4 separate regions of the Homo sapiens genome follow, and regions 1, 2 and 3 are each linked to region 4. Evidence: promoter capture Hi-C in 16 types of primary human blood cells and fetal thymus (Javierre and others, 2016). All regions are on one chromosome and are shown on one strand. Each heading gives the region's core, a stretch centred on a gene start or on the middle of the fragment in contact. The rest is flanking DNA. Distances are from core to core; before and after follow the strand shown. Region 1 overlaps CLMP (CXADR like cell adhesion molecule). Region 2 holds the start of SNORD14D (small nucleolar RNA, C/D box 14D). Region 3 overlaps CLMP (CXADR like cell adhesion molecule). Region 4 holds the start of GRAMD1B (GRAM domain containing 1B).

Region 1 (3,066 bases), core at 386-2,885, 340 kb before region 4:
TCAGCCTCCTGAGTAGCTGGGATTACAGGTGTACACCACCATGCCCGGCTAACTTTTGTATTATTGGTAGAGACAGGGTTTCGCCATGTTGGCCAGGCTGGTCTTGAACTCTTGGCCTCAGGTGATCCACCCTCCTTGGCCTCCCAAAGTGCTGGGATTACAGACATGAGCCACCACGCCTGGCCTGCCTTCCATTCTATTCCTGAATAAGAAATAAGATAGCTACAAAGATAAAAAAAAAAAAAAAAAAAAAGCTTACAGTACTCCTGCACAATTTGCCCACAAGGTGACTGCTTGTGGACAAAGGACAGACAGAACTCACAGTTACCCCTCTGCACACATGAGATAAATGCATATCTGATTGCTTCCTTTGCCCTATTTCACTAAGCCGAACTAATTTTTTATGTTTTTTTTTTTTTGTTTTTTTTTTGAGATAGAGTCTCACTCTTGTCGCCCGGTCTGGAGTACAATGGTGCGATCCTGGCTCACTGCAACCTCTGTCTCCTGGGTTCAAGCAATTCTTCTGCCTCAGTCTCCTGAGTAGCTGGGATTACAGATGCATGCCACCATGACTCGCTCATTTTTGTATTTTTAGTAGAGCTGGGGTTTCTCCATGTTGGCCAGGCTGGTCTTGAACTCCTGACCTCAGATGATCTGCCTGCCTCAGCCTCCCAAAGTGCTGGGATTACAGGTGTGAGCCACTGCGCCTGGCCCTAATTTTTTATTTTAGTAGAGATGGGGTTTCACCATTCTGGCCAGGCTGGTCTCAAAGTCCTGACCTCAGGTGATCCACCCTCCTCGGCTTCCCAAAGTGCTGGGATTACAGGTGTGAGCCACTGCGCCTGGCAAATCTCTTCTTTGGTTCAAGTGATTTATAATCAAGTGAGATTAACAAGGAAAGACTATTAAACAGAGAAAAAGAAATGATTTATTTGAAATAGTATCAAGGAGAGTGTCCCAGACAAGTTGGTGGCATTTGAGCTAGGCTTTGAGAGGCAAGGAGAAAAGGCCTGGAGGGAGCATTCCAGCTACACAGAAGGGCACTAAAAAAGGCATGCAAGCATATGGGCATCTCCCAGGCACATTTCAGCTGCAGCTGTTCCAAATTGTTTCACTCAAGCCCTCAACCCTGCCTTTGATCACGTGTTGCTCCACAGCTCTTCAGAGCCTTTCCTGAGAAGGTTCTCTCAATCAGATAAAACCTATGAACTCTGACCCAGAAAAAACTCACATATTATTTTGCAGATAATTCCATGGGGTTCCTAGCACTCAAGGGAAAGCCCTCTGCTTTAGGCACAGATGGGGAAGAGCTAGGATCACAGCCCTTCTCCTGGATGTGGTACTTGTTTGTTCTAAATATTTGTGGGGGCCAGATGCGTGGTGGTTCACGCCTGTAATCCAAGCACTTTGGGAGACCAAGGCTGGTGGTTTGCTTGAGCCCAGGAGGTTGAGGCTATAGTGAGCCAAGACTGCGCCACTGTACTCCAGCCTGGGTGACAGAGTGAGACCCTGTCTCAACAAATAAAATTTAAAAAAAGAAAAAAATGTAACTGGGTGCGGTGGCTCACAACTGTAATCCCAGCATTTTGGGACGCCAAGGCAAGCAGATCACTTGAAGTCAGGAGTTTGAGACCAGCCTGGCCAACATGGTGAAACCCTGTCTCTACTAAAAAATACAAAAATTAGACAGGTGGCCTGACGTGGTGGCTCACGCCTATAATCCCAGTCCTTTGGGAGGCCGAGGTGGGCAGATCACCTGAGGTTGGGAGTTCAAGACCAGCCTGACCAACATGGTGAAACCCCGTCTCTACTAAAAATACAAAATTAGCCGGGCGTGATGGCGCATGCCTATAATCCCAGCTACTCGGGAGGCTGAGGCAGGAGAATTGCTTGAACCCGGGAGGCGGAGGTTGCAATGAGCCAAGATCACGGCATTGCACTGCAGTCTGAGCAACAAGAGCGAAACTCCGTCTCAAAAAAAAAAAGAAAGAAAGAAAAAACTAGGTGTGGTGGTGTGCGCCTGTAAACCCAGCTACTCAGGAGGCTGAGGCAGCAGAATCACTTGAACCTGGGAGGCAGAGATTGCAGTGAGTGGAGATTATGCCACTGCACTCCAGCCTGGGCAACATAACAAGATTCTGTCTCAAAAAAATAAAATGAAATAAATAAATATTTGCGGCTCGGTGCAGTGGCTCATGCCTGTAATCCCAGTACTTTGGGATGCCGAGGCGGGTGGATCACGAGGTCAAGAGATCGAGACCATCCTGGCCAATATGGTGAAACCCTGTCTCTACTAAAAATACAAAAATTAGCTGGGTGTGGTGGCATATGCCTGTAGTCCCAGCTACTAAAGAGGCTGAGGCAGAAGAATCGCTGGAACCCAGGAGGCAGAGGTTCCAGTGAGCCAAGATCATGCCACTGCACTCCAGCCTAGGGACAGAGTGAGACTCTGCCTCAAAACAAGACAAAACAAAACAGAAAAATGTTTGTAGGGTGTTGTTGGCCCCACATCCTGTTGTACTCTGTAGGGTAGGTTTCGTTTTGTTTCTTTTTTTTTTTTCTTTGAGACGGAGTTTCACTCTTTTTGCCCAGGCTGGGGTGCAATGGCATGATCTTGGCTCACCACAACCTCCGCCTCCCGGGTTCAAGTGATTCTCCTGCCTCAGCCTCCTGAGTAGCTGGGATTACAGGCATGTGCCACCAGGCCCAGCTAATTTTGTATTTTTAGAAGAGATGGGGTTTCTCCACGTTGGTCAGGCTGGTCTCGAACTCCTGACTTCAGGTGATCTGCCCGCCTCGGCCTCCCAAAGTGCTGGGATTACAGGTGTGAGCCACCATGCCCAGCTGGAAGGGTAGGTTTCTTGGCAGGTGATAGAGCTGACTTAGTAATGCAAAATTGCTGGGATAGTTGGAAAAGAAGGAAATGCGTTCACAACAGGAAAAAACTGGAAGCTGTAGAGTTTGTCTCCATTCAAAGACTGAAAGTAAGGGGGCCTTACACCTGGAGATAAGGCAGGTAAGCTTGGAACACTTACTAGGTGCTCTGTTAATGTTTCTCTTTCTTTC
Region 2 (2,886 bases), core at 53-2,552, 370 kb before region 4:
TGACCCTACACTGAAATCCAGCTCAAGCTTGGTTTACCATCCCCTTCCCCTCCATTGAGTGGGGGAGGAAAAAAAAAAAAAAAAAACACAAACCTGATTCTTATCAAGCCAGTTGATAATTTCATTACACTTGTCCAGAATCTTCTGTTTGTCCTCATCGTTAATCTTGCCTTGAAGTTTCTCATCTTCAACAGTTGCTTTCATGTTGAAGGCATAGGACTCAAGTGAATTCTTGGATGACACCTTGTCCCTCTGCTTCTCATCTTCAGCTTTGTACTTCTCAGCTTCCTGGACCATACGTTCAATGTCTTCCTTGCTCAAACGGCCTAGGAAAGAAATTAACTCTAAGTAAAAGCCTTAAATTACCTGTGTATGTGTAACTCTAGTTTCTCTTAGCTAGACGCCCTTAGGCACCAGTAACTCAATTGAAATACCATTATCCCTGTCAAGACCAGATGACAGTGCCTCCTTACCCTTGTCATTAGTGATAGTAATCTTGTTCTCTTTTCCCGTACTCTTGTCCACAGCAGAGACATTGAGTATACCATTGGCATCAATGTCAAAAGTGACTTCAATCTGAGGAACACCTCGGGGTGCAGGAGGTATGCCTGTGAGTTCAAACTTGCCAAGCAGGTTGTTATCCTTTGTCATGGCACGCTCGCCTTCATAAACCTTGGTAGGAAATAAAACAAATTACTACAATGGACTCCAGGTCTGTGACAGTGCTAGGGTCCTGCTAAGGAAGAATGGTCGCTCAAACATCCAAGGAAGGAACTGGCCAACATAAGACTTTCTGGTGGAAACTACGAATGGTTTTGGAATCCATCATCATAGCGAGTCAGTCAAGACTTCCCTTTATCTGTTATCAGTAAGCCAAACAAGAGAAGTACAGAAACATACCTGAATAAGCACACCAGGCTGGTTGTCAGAATAGGTAGTGAAGGTCTGTGTCTGCTTGGTAGGAATGGTGGTATTACGCTTGATGAGGACAGTCATGACTCCACCAGCAGTTTCAATACCAAGGGAAAGAGGAGTGACATCCAAGAGCAGCAAATCTTGAACATTCTCAGACTTGTCTCCAGACAAGATGGCTGCCTGGACAGCTAGCAAACAAAAAGTTAACGTTAAAAGAAGTTAAAAGAAAACCCAGTACATAGCTCCTGTTTTAACTATCACTCGCTCAGACATCCAAGGAAGGTGTTGCCATCATTAGCCAAGCTTTTGGTGGAAACTACGAATGTTTAACAATCACTCATCACAGCGAGTCACCTTGGGCCTGCCTGCCTTTAGGGTTAATTGAGATACCATTGTTACCTGCACCATAAGCAACAGCTTCATCAGGGTTGATGCTCTTATTCAGTTCTTTTCCATTGAAGAAGTCTTGGAGAAGCTTCTGAATCTTGGGGATACGAGTAGAACCACCAACCAGGACAATATCATGAATCTGTGACTTGTCTAGTTTGGCATCTCGAAGGGCTTTCTCTACTGGGTCCAGGGTGCCACGGAACAGGTCAGCATTCAGTTCTTCAAATCGGGCACGGGTAATGGAGGTATAGAAGTCGATTCCTTCATAGAGAGAATCGATCTCAATACTGGCCTGGGTGCTGGAAGAGAGGGTACGCTTAGCACGTTCACAAGCAGTACGGAGGCGTCTTACAGCTCTCTTGTTCTCACTGATGTCCTTCTTATGCTTGCGCTTAAACTCAGCAATAAAATGGTTGACCATTCGGTTGTCAAAATCTTCTCCACCCAAGTGGGTGTCTCCAGCTGTAGACTTGACCTCAAAGATTCCATCCTCAATAGTGAGGATTGACACATCAAAAGTGCCACCTCCCAGGTCAAAGATGAGCACGTTTCTTTCTGCTCCAACCTGCCGTTAAAAACAATCTCATTTAAATTTACGATGGATCAAATTAATCTTAAAATAATCCGAACTTGCATCACAAATGGTACATACCTTTTTGTCTAAGCCGTAAGCAATAGCAGCAGCAGTTGGCTCATTAATAATTCTAAGTACATTGAGACCAGCAATAGTTCCAGCATCTTTGGTAGCCTGACGCTGAGAGTCATTAAAGTAAGCTGGCACTGTGACCACAGCATTGGTAACAGTCTAGGAATAAGGAAAAGACCACAGATTGGTAACTATTATACTTACATATATGCAAACTCCAGCAAATGGATTAATGCTGGTGAAAGAACAGCTGGAGCACCCCCCCCACCAAAATGTAAATTACTGTGTAATTGTCAAGATTCACTGGTTTCTGGTGTTGACAGACCCATCTACCTAGAGAGCCTAGGGCACTGTTGGGCACGTGGTCTTAACCCTGAGCTGAGCCCCATCTGTTCCCCTCCCTCGCCAGGTGCCAGTGCCCCCGGGAGTCATCGGGCTTTTAACTACTCCGGAATGCACCCCATACTGAAAAACCAACCTCACCTTCCCAAGGTAGGCTTCTGCAATTTCCTTCATCTTTGTCAGAACCATAGAAGACACCTCCTCTGGATAGAAGCTTTTGGTCTCTCCCTTGTATTCTACTTGGACCTTGGGCCTGCCAGCATCATTCACCACCATAAAGGGCCAATGTTTCATATCAGACTGGACAACAGCATCATCAAATCTGCGTCCAATCAGACGTTTGGCATCTGTAAAAGGTGTCAAATGAAAACACTTTCAATTTCATAGCTCTTCTGATAAAACTCAAGTCCATGATTACTCAAATACCTAACAGTTCATAGGTAGGTGAATTCAACTACCATATAGGTAGCAAAGGTTCAAACTTCAACCTCCTACGTTATCCAGATTTCAGCCTGAAAGGTTTCTACAACCTGTTTTATAACAGACTTGATAACAAGTCTCTCAGCTCAGTTTTTCTAAAATCAAAAAGTTCC
Region 3 (2,944 bases), core at 29-2,528, 320 kb before region 4:
GGGGCAGTCTGACCATCCTGTGGCTAGCCTTGGATTGCGTGGGCACTGGAAGATTCATCTTTGTTAGGAAAGACTTTAGAGATCATCAGTTTAACTTATGAGGAGATTGCACCCCAGAGAATTGAGATGTCACGTCACAAAACTAATTAGTGGCAGAATTGCAAGTAAGGGAATAGTCTCTGCTAGGATTCTGTTGCAGCATTTACCTATGGGAAGAGGTGCTGAGTGGTGGCAGTGGTAAGGACTGCCTCCTTAGGCACAGGCAGAATGCCTTCAGGGAAGCCGCAAGCTCTCCCTAAGTGGGAGCTTTTGCATGCACCTCAGGCACTTATCAAAGGACCTCTGGGAGCTTGAGAAAATTACCTTCTGAGCCTTAGTGTTTCCATCCGCAAAATGGGAATTAAAGAAGACACTGAGGAAAGCAGCTAGCATTGTGAAAGCACATAGGAGTCTCCCATTAAAATGTTAGTTCTCTTCCCCTGCTCATCTCTGCTAGAAGGGACTTTTTCTCACATGACTGCTGCCTACACTCAATTAAGAGTAGTTTAAAGTTTTATCCTCTAAAAGGTATTTACATTTATTTCCTTCCCTTCCCTCCCTCCCTCCCTCCCTCCCTCCCTCCCTTCCTTCCTTCCTTCCTTCCTCTCTCTCTCTTTCTTTCTTCTTTTCTTTCTTTCTTTTTTTTTGAGATGGAGTCTTGCTCTGTCGCCCAGGCTGGAGTGCAGTGGCACAATCTTGGCTCACCACAACCTCCGCCTCCTGGGTTCAAGCGATTCTCCTGCCTCAGCCACGTGAATAGCTGGGATTACAGGCATGCGCCACCACACCTGGTTAATTTTGTATTTTTAGTAGAGACAGGGTTTTGCCACGTTTGTCAGGTTTGTCTCAAACTCCTGACCTCAGGTGATCTGCCTATCTTGGACTCCCAAAGTGCTGGGATTATAGGTGTGAGCCACTGTGCCAAGCCGTATTTACATTTTCTCATAGATTCTCCTGAACCTTAAGACCCCCTTCAAAGAGATGGGCAGGAGGAACTGTGGTTTTTGTTTGTTTGTTTTTTGTTTTTTTTTTTTTGAGACAATCTTGCTCTGTCACCCAGGCTGGAGTACAGTAGCGCAATCTCAGCTCACTGCAACCTCCGCCTCCCGGGTTCCAGCGATTCTTGTGCCTCAGCCTCCCGAGTAGCTGGGATTACAGGCCCACGCCACCACGCCTGGCTAATTTTTGTATTTTTAGTAGAGACGGGGTTTCACCATGTTGGCCAGGCTGGTCTCGAACTCCTGACCTCAGTGATCCACCCACCTCAGACTTCTGAAGTGCTGGAATTACAGCTGTGAGCCACCATGCCCTGCTATTATGAGATTTTATTGTGATTTTATTCTATTTTTTTTTTTAGCTCATCAGCTGTTGTTAGTGTATTTTATGTGTGGCCCAAGATAATTCTTCTTCTTCCAGTGTGGCTCAGGGAAGCAAAAAGATTGGACACTCTTGAACAGTTTATTAAATTTGTATGCCTTTTCTCCTATTAATCTGCCTCTTGTCAGTGCTTTTCAATGAACCTTCAGCGGGCAGACGGGAAGTTTTCCCTTCACCCCAGCTACATATATAATTCTGTAGGAGGTGTGTGTGTGTGTGTGTGTGTGTGTGTGTGTGTGTGTGTGTGCGCGCGCGCGCGCGCACGTGCCTGCCTTCCAGATTGTTTATGGAACACTGTATGCAGTTCAAGACACAGCATGATGCAATAGAAAGAGGATGAGCTTTGGAGTCTGAGAGGTCTGGACTTGAGTAGTGGCTGTAAGACCAATTAATTCCCTGATTGCTCCAAGTTGTTTACTTTTCCGTAAAAGGAAAATAAAAACATCAACTTTGGAAGTTATTGTAAGCATTACATATGATGCATGAAAGTGTCTAGCACTGGCGCATGGTATGTAGCACACACTCAGCAAATGGCAACTACTATTAATAATTGTACTTGTGGCTGGGTGCAGTGGCTCACGCCTGTAATCCCAGCACGTTGGGAGGTCGAGGTGGGCGGATCACGAGGTCAGGAGATCGAGACCATCCTGGCTAACACAGTGAAACCCCGTCTCTACTAAAAATACAAAAAATTAGCCCGGCGAGGTGGTGGGCGCCTGTAGTCCCAGCTACTCGGGAGGCTGAGGCAGGAGAATGGTGTGAACCCGGGAGGCGGAGCTTGCAGTGAGCCGGATTGAGCCACTGCACTCCAGCCTGGGCGACAGAGCGAGACTCCGTCTCAAAAAAAAAAAAAAATAATAATAATAATAATTGTACTTGCTGCATTTTTTTTTTTTGAGACAGGGTCTCAGATGCTCTTTCTGCCAGGCTGGAGTGCAGTGGCACAATCATAACTCACTGCAGCCTGAACTCCCTGGGCTCAAGTGATCCTCCCACCTCAGCCTCCCAAGTAGCTGGGACTATAGGCTTTCACCACCATGCCTGGCTAATGAAATTTTTTTTTTTTAATTTAGACGGAGTCTCACTCTGTCACCCAGGCTGGAGTGCAGTGGCGTGATCTCAGCTCACCGAAACCTCGGCCTCCTGGGTTCAAGCGATTCTCCTGCCTCAGCCTTGTGAATAGCTGGGATTATAGGCGCATGCCACCACATCTGGCAAATTTTCGTATTTTTAGTAGAGATGGGCTTTCACCGTGTTGGCCAGGCTGGTCTCAAAGTCCTGACCTCAGGTGATCCTCCCACTTCAGCCTCCCAAAGTGCTGGGATTACAGGTGCGAGCCACCGCACCTGACCTAAATTTTTTTTTTTTTTTTTTTCAGAAACAGGGTTTCACTATGTTGCCCAGGCTGGCCTCAGGCTCCTGAGCTCAAGCAGTCCTCCCGCCTCGGCCTCTGAAAGTGCTGGGATCACAGGCATGGGCCACCACCGTGTTGCATTTTGAAAGACAGGGAAAACCAGAAAACATACCA
Region 4 (3,200 bases), core at 234-2,733:
TGGGCATTGGCTCCCAGATGGAAACTGGACTCTGAGAGAGGCAGAAAAGAAGGGTGGATCAGATTGTGGACTTCATGGTATGTTCTTGGGTGCTTCTCATGATCTCTTTGAAAGTTACTGACCAGGCTGGGCATGGTGGCTCATGCCTGTAATCTCAGCACTTTGGGAGGCCAAGGTGGGCAGATCACTTGAGGCCAGGAGTTTGAGACCAGCCTGGGCAATATAGCAAGACCTCATATCGACAAAAAGAAATAAAACTTAGCTGCGTGTGGTGGTGCGCACCTGTACTCCCAGCTACTCAGGAGGCTCAGCTGGGAGGACAGCTTGAGCCCAGGAATTCAAGGTTGCGGTGAGCCATGACTGCACCACTGCACTCCAGCCTGGGCAACAGAGTGAGACTTTGTCTCTTAAAAACAAAACAAAACAAAACAGTTACTGACCCAAGAGACAAATGCATTGGGCTGGGGTTGAAGGAGGAGAATGGCTGCTACAGCCCTGCTCTAGGAGCTGGGCTGGGTTAGACTCAGTGCCCACAGAGAGCACCTAAATAGGATGGATCGGTTCTAGGGTTGATGATCTCTTAGGGCCTGGGTCTAGAGAGTGAGTGTGGTTCAGCACATCTTGGGATGCTACCAGGACTGAACCAGACTTCCTAGGTTCCATGACATGGGGACATACTGGATTCTGTGACTCAGTCCATGGCAGGCTGAAGCAGAACTGAATCAGCCCTCAGCAATGTAAGGGGGGGTACCCTCGACTCCCTGGGGCTCTGTTGGATGCATTGCTTTGTGGGTGCTCACCGACTCCTCATTTCATTCTTTGCTAGGGACGCGGCTATGGTACTGGCAGCTGGCTCATGTACAGGGTTCAGGCCCCATTTTCCTTACTGGTCCTGTGTCCTTTGTCTCTCAGACCCTGTTGTCTGTCTTTCCTTGGTATGTCATGTCTGGTATCCTCAGCTCACGCCGCCACGGGAGAACTGTCCTCTTCTCAGCTTGTCATTTTGGAAGCAGCCTCCAGCAACCTTGCTTTCCTCCTCTGACTATACTCCGGCCTGCAGTGCCACTACTCACGCCCCCAAATAATTTAAACTGCCTTTCTTAGGAGACAAGAGCTAGTTGAAAAGTCTCCTCATTTTCCTTCAACCCTGTATCATGGGTGGCCTGAGAGAGTGAGGACTGAATTCATTGACTCCCCTTTCTCTGCACCCCCCACCCCCAAGGAAATAGCCGAGTTCGACTAATGGGAGTTGCCTGGCCAATCGTTGCCCTGAGAAAGTTTGGTTTGTGATCCTATTTCAGTAGGCTGATTGGAGCAGCCTTTACTTGGAGGTCGAGTCCCTCCCCGAGGGAATCCGTGTACAGTTACACTAGCGGTCGCTGCCAGTGCTAGCCCATTCAGGATAGCCCCCCTCACCCCGCCCCCAGCCCCCGCTCCTCCTCCTCCTTTTTTGTTTTTATCCAGTGTCTCGCTTCCTCTCTCTCTCTCTCTCTCTGTCTCTCTCTCCCTTTCCCTCCTACCACTGCCTCTTCCTCCCGCTCTCTACCTCCCTGCAGCGCCAAGCCGGCTCCCCAACCTGGTCTGCTGAACGCAAACCGCTGAGAGTTTGCTGCACCGCCCCCTGGGGCCCCTGGCTGCCGAGTCCCGCTAAGGCAAAGACGCCAGCAAGCGAGGAAGCGCAGCGGAAGAAAAACAAGCGGGCGCGCGAGGGGAGCCCCAGGAGGGCTGCCGAGTGGCTGGCAGGCGGCTCCCGCCCCTCCCGGGTGGCCTCGCCGGCGGCTGACGGCCCGGAGGACGCGCGCTCCGAAAAGTTAGACTCCGGGCGGCGGCGCGCTACGCCGCGTCCCCTCGCGTCCCTTCCTCGCTGCGCTCCGGGAAAGGAACTTGTTCCTTCGGCCCCAGGATTGGGGAGTGTGCCGCGGGGCCGAGGGTGGGGAACAGCCAGAGGGAGACGCGAACCAGGCCGCTGGCGGAGGGCTCAGGGGGAGCGCAGAGGCGACGGCCCCCATGCCGGCGGCCAACATGATGGAGAACCGGCCGCTGCCCGCCCTGCAGGTGCCCGAGCCGCAGGGTGCGCCCGAGGGCAGCCCGGTCTGGTCCAGTTCGTCGACCCCCACGCTTCGCCGCCGGCGCTTCAAGATGCGCCGCATGAAGAACGTACAGGAGCAGAGCCTGGAGGCCGGGCTGGCCCGGGACCTGCCCGCCGTCTTGGCCCCCGGCAAGGAGTTCCTGCAGCTGCCGTCCATCGAGATCACGCCCTCCAGCGACGAGGACACCCCGTGGTCCAACTGCTCCACACCCAGCGCGTCCCCGCGCCGAAAACGCTTCCTCCTCCGCAAGTGGCTGAGGGTGAGGGAGCGGAAGGAGTGCAGTGAAAGCAGGTACGTCCCCGTTCCGCCCGTCTCCTTCCCTTCCCTCCCGTCCTCTCCAGAGCCGTCCAGGGCCCCGGGGCATTCTGGGGGAAACGTCCTGGGGGAGAACAGGAGCCCGTCACCAGAGGCGCTTCTGGAGGGCGCTGCGCCTGGTCCCAGGGATGGTGGCATTCAGCTTCCACGCGTGCCACCCGCTCCCCAACTCAGGGTGAGGGGCTTCATGTTGCACGACACGTTTACGTGGGGCTTTACGCTGCATTCCATCTCCCTTGATCCTCGCAGCGAAATAAATAATAAAAATAATAACAGCTAATAGTTATTGAGCCCTTACCATGTGCGGGCCACTATGTTGCGCACTTCATGTACCTCCAGATTTCATCCCTACGCAAACTCTCTGAGGTAGGTATTACTATGGCTCCCTTTCTACAGAAGGAGATAGTAAAAGGCCAGAGAACAGTTAAGTGGTTTATATTTCAGGACTCCGTTTCAATCTTATTTTATGTTTGGCCACACCGGATTGCCTTAACTGGCTCACTTGTGTGGAAGTGAAATATTGACATTGAGTGAGTCACATTTCCTACCATATCAGAGTCTTTAGACATCGATACCTACAAGACTGTGGTTTGTACCAGCTAGTTTTTTGCCTAGGTCAATGTGGCATCTGGGTAATGGGAGAAGGTTGAGCTTCCCTCACGTAGAGAATTGCTGCAGGGCGCCCTAGAGCAGCTCTACACAGCCCTGGTCAGGACTGCTGCTTCAGGAAGTTGTGTCTGAGCCAAGCCCCTTGCCTGGTGGAGGGCAGGGAGTCCTCACTTGTTCATCGGTACC

Evidence for each region. Contacts are between HindIII fragments. The CHiCAGO score rates a contact against its expected background, and 5 or more counts as called.
Region 1: a fragment that was not itself captured here is called in contact with the fragment with the promoter of GRAMD1B in region 4 in 2 of 17 cell types (fetal thymus and endothelial precursors); the score reaches 12.3 in fetal thymus.
Region 2: a fragment that was not itself captured here is called in contact with the fragment with the promoter of GRAMD1B in region 4 in 1 of 17 cell types (fetal thymus); the score reaches 5.3 in fetal thymus.
Region 3: a contact is called between a fragment that was not itself captured here and the fragment with the promoter of GRAMD1B in region 4, in 4 of 17 cell types (fetal thymus, M0 macrophages, M2 macrophages and 1 more). The highest score is 10.0, in fetal thymus.

Annotation. Positions count from the first base shown.
Region 1 is chr11:123,085,364-123,088,429 of GRCh38, forward strand. All of the region lies in intron 2 of CLMP (CXADR like cell adhesion molecule), which reads right to left. Among named protein-coding and RNA genes, the nearest start is that of HSPA8, 25 kb to the left of the region's middle. The HindIII fragment of the contact is 2,767 bases long and covers 253-3,019 here.
Region 2 is chr11:123,058,159-123,061,044 of GRCh38, forward strand. HSPA8 (heat shock protein family A (Hsp70) member 8) reads right to left here. Exons shown (of 9, transcript NM_006597.6): 3 at 2,435-2,640; 4 at 1,958-2,110; 5 at 1,315-1,870; 6 at 901-1,103; 7 at 474-672; 8 at 94-326. It overlaps SNORD14D (small nucleolar RNA, C/D box 14D), which reads right to left and starts at 837; the gene lies at 751-837. It overlaps SNORD14C (small nucleolar RNA, C/D box 14C), which reads right to left and starts at 1,264; the gene lies at 1,177-1,264. The HindIII fragment of the contact is 172 bases long and covers 1,217-1,388 here.
Region 3 is chr11:123,104,763-123,107,706 of GRCh38, forward strand. The region is part of intron 1 of CLMP (CXADR like cell adhesion molecule); the gene reads right to left. Among named protein-coding and RNA genes, the nearest start is that of HSPA8, 44 kb to the left of the region's middle. The HindIII fragment of the contact is 4,616 bases long and covers 1-2,944 here.
Region 4 is chr11:123,428,786-123,431,985 of GRCh38, forward strand. GRAMD1B (GRAM domain containing 1B) reads left to right here and starts at 1,484. Exons shown (of 20, transcript NM_001387025.1): 1 at 1,484-2,381. The coding sequence starts at 2,008. It overlaps LOC124902776 (a long non-coding RNA gene), which reads right to left and starts at 2,429. Exons shown (of 2, transcript XR_007062928.1): 1 at 2,162-2,429; 2 at 1-31. RefSeq lists silencers at 1,622-1,951, 2,062-2,111. The HindIII fragment of the contact is 5,032 bases long and covers 1-3,200 here.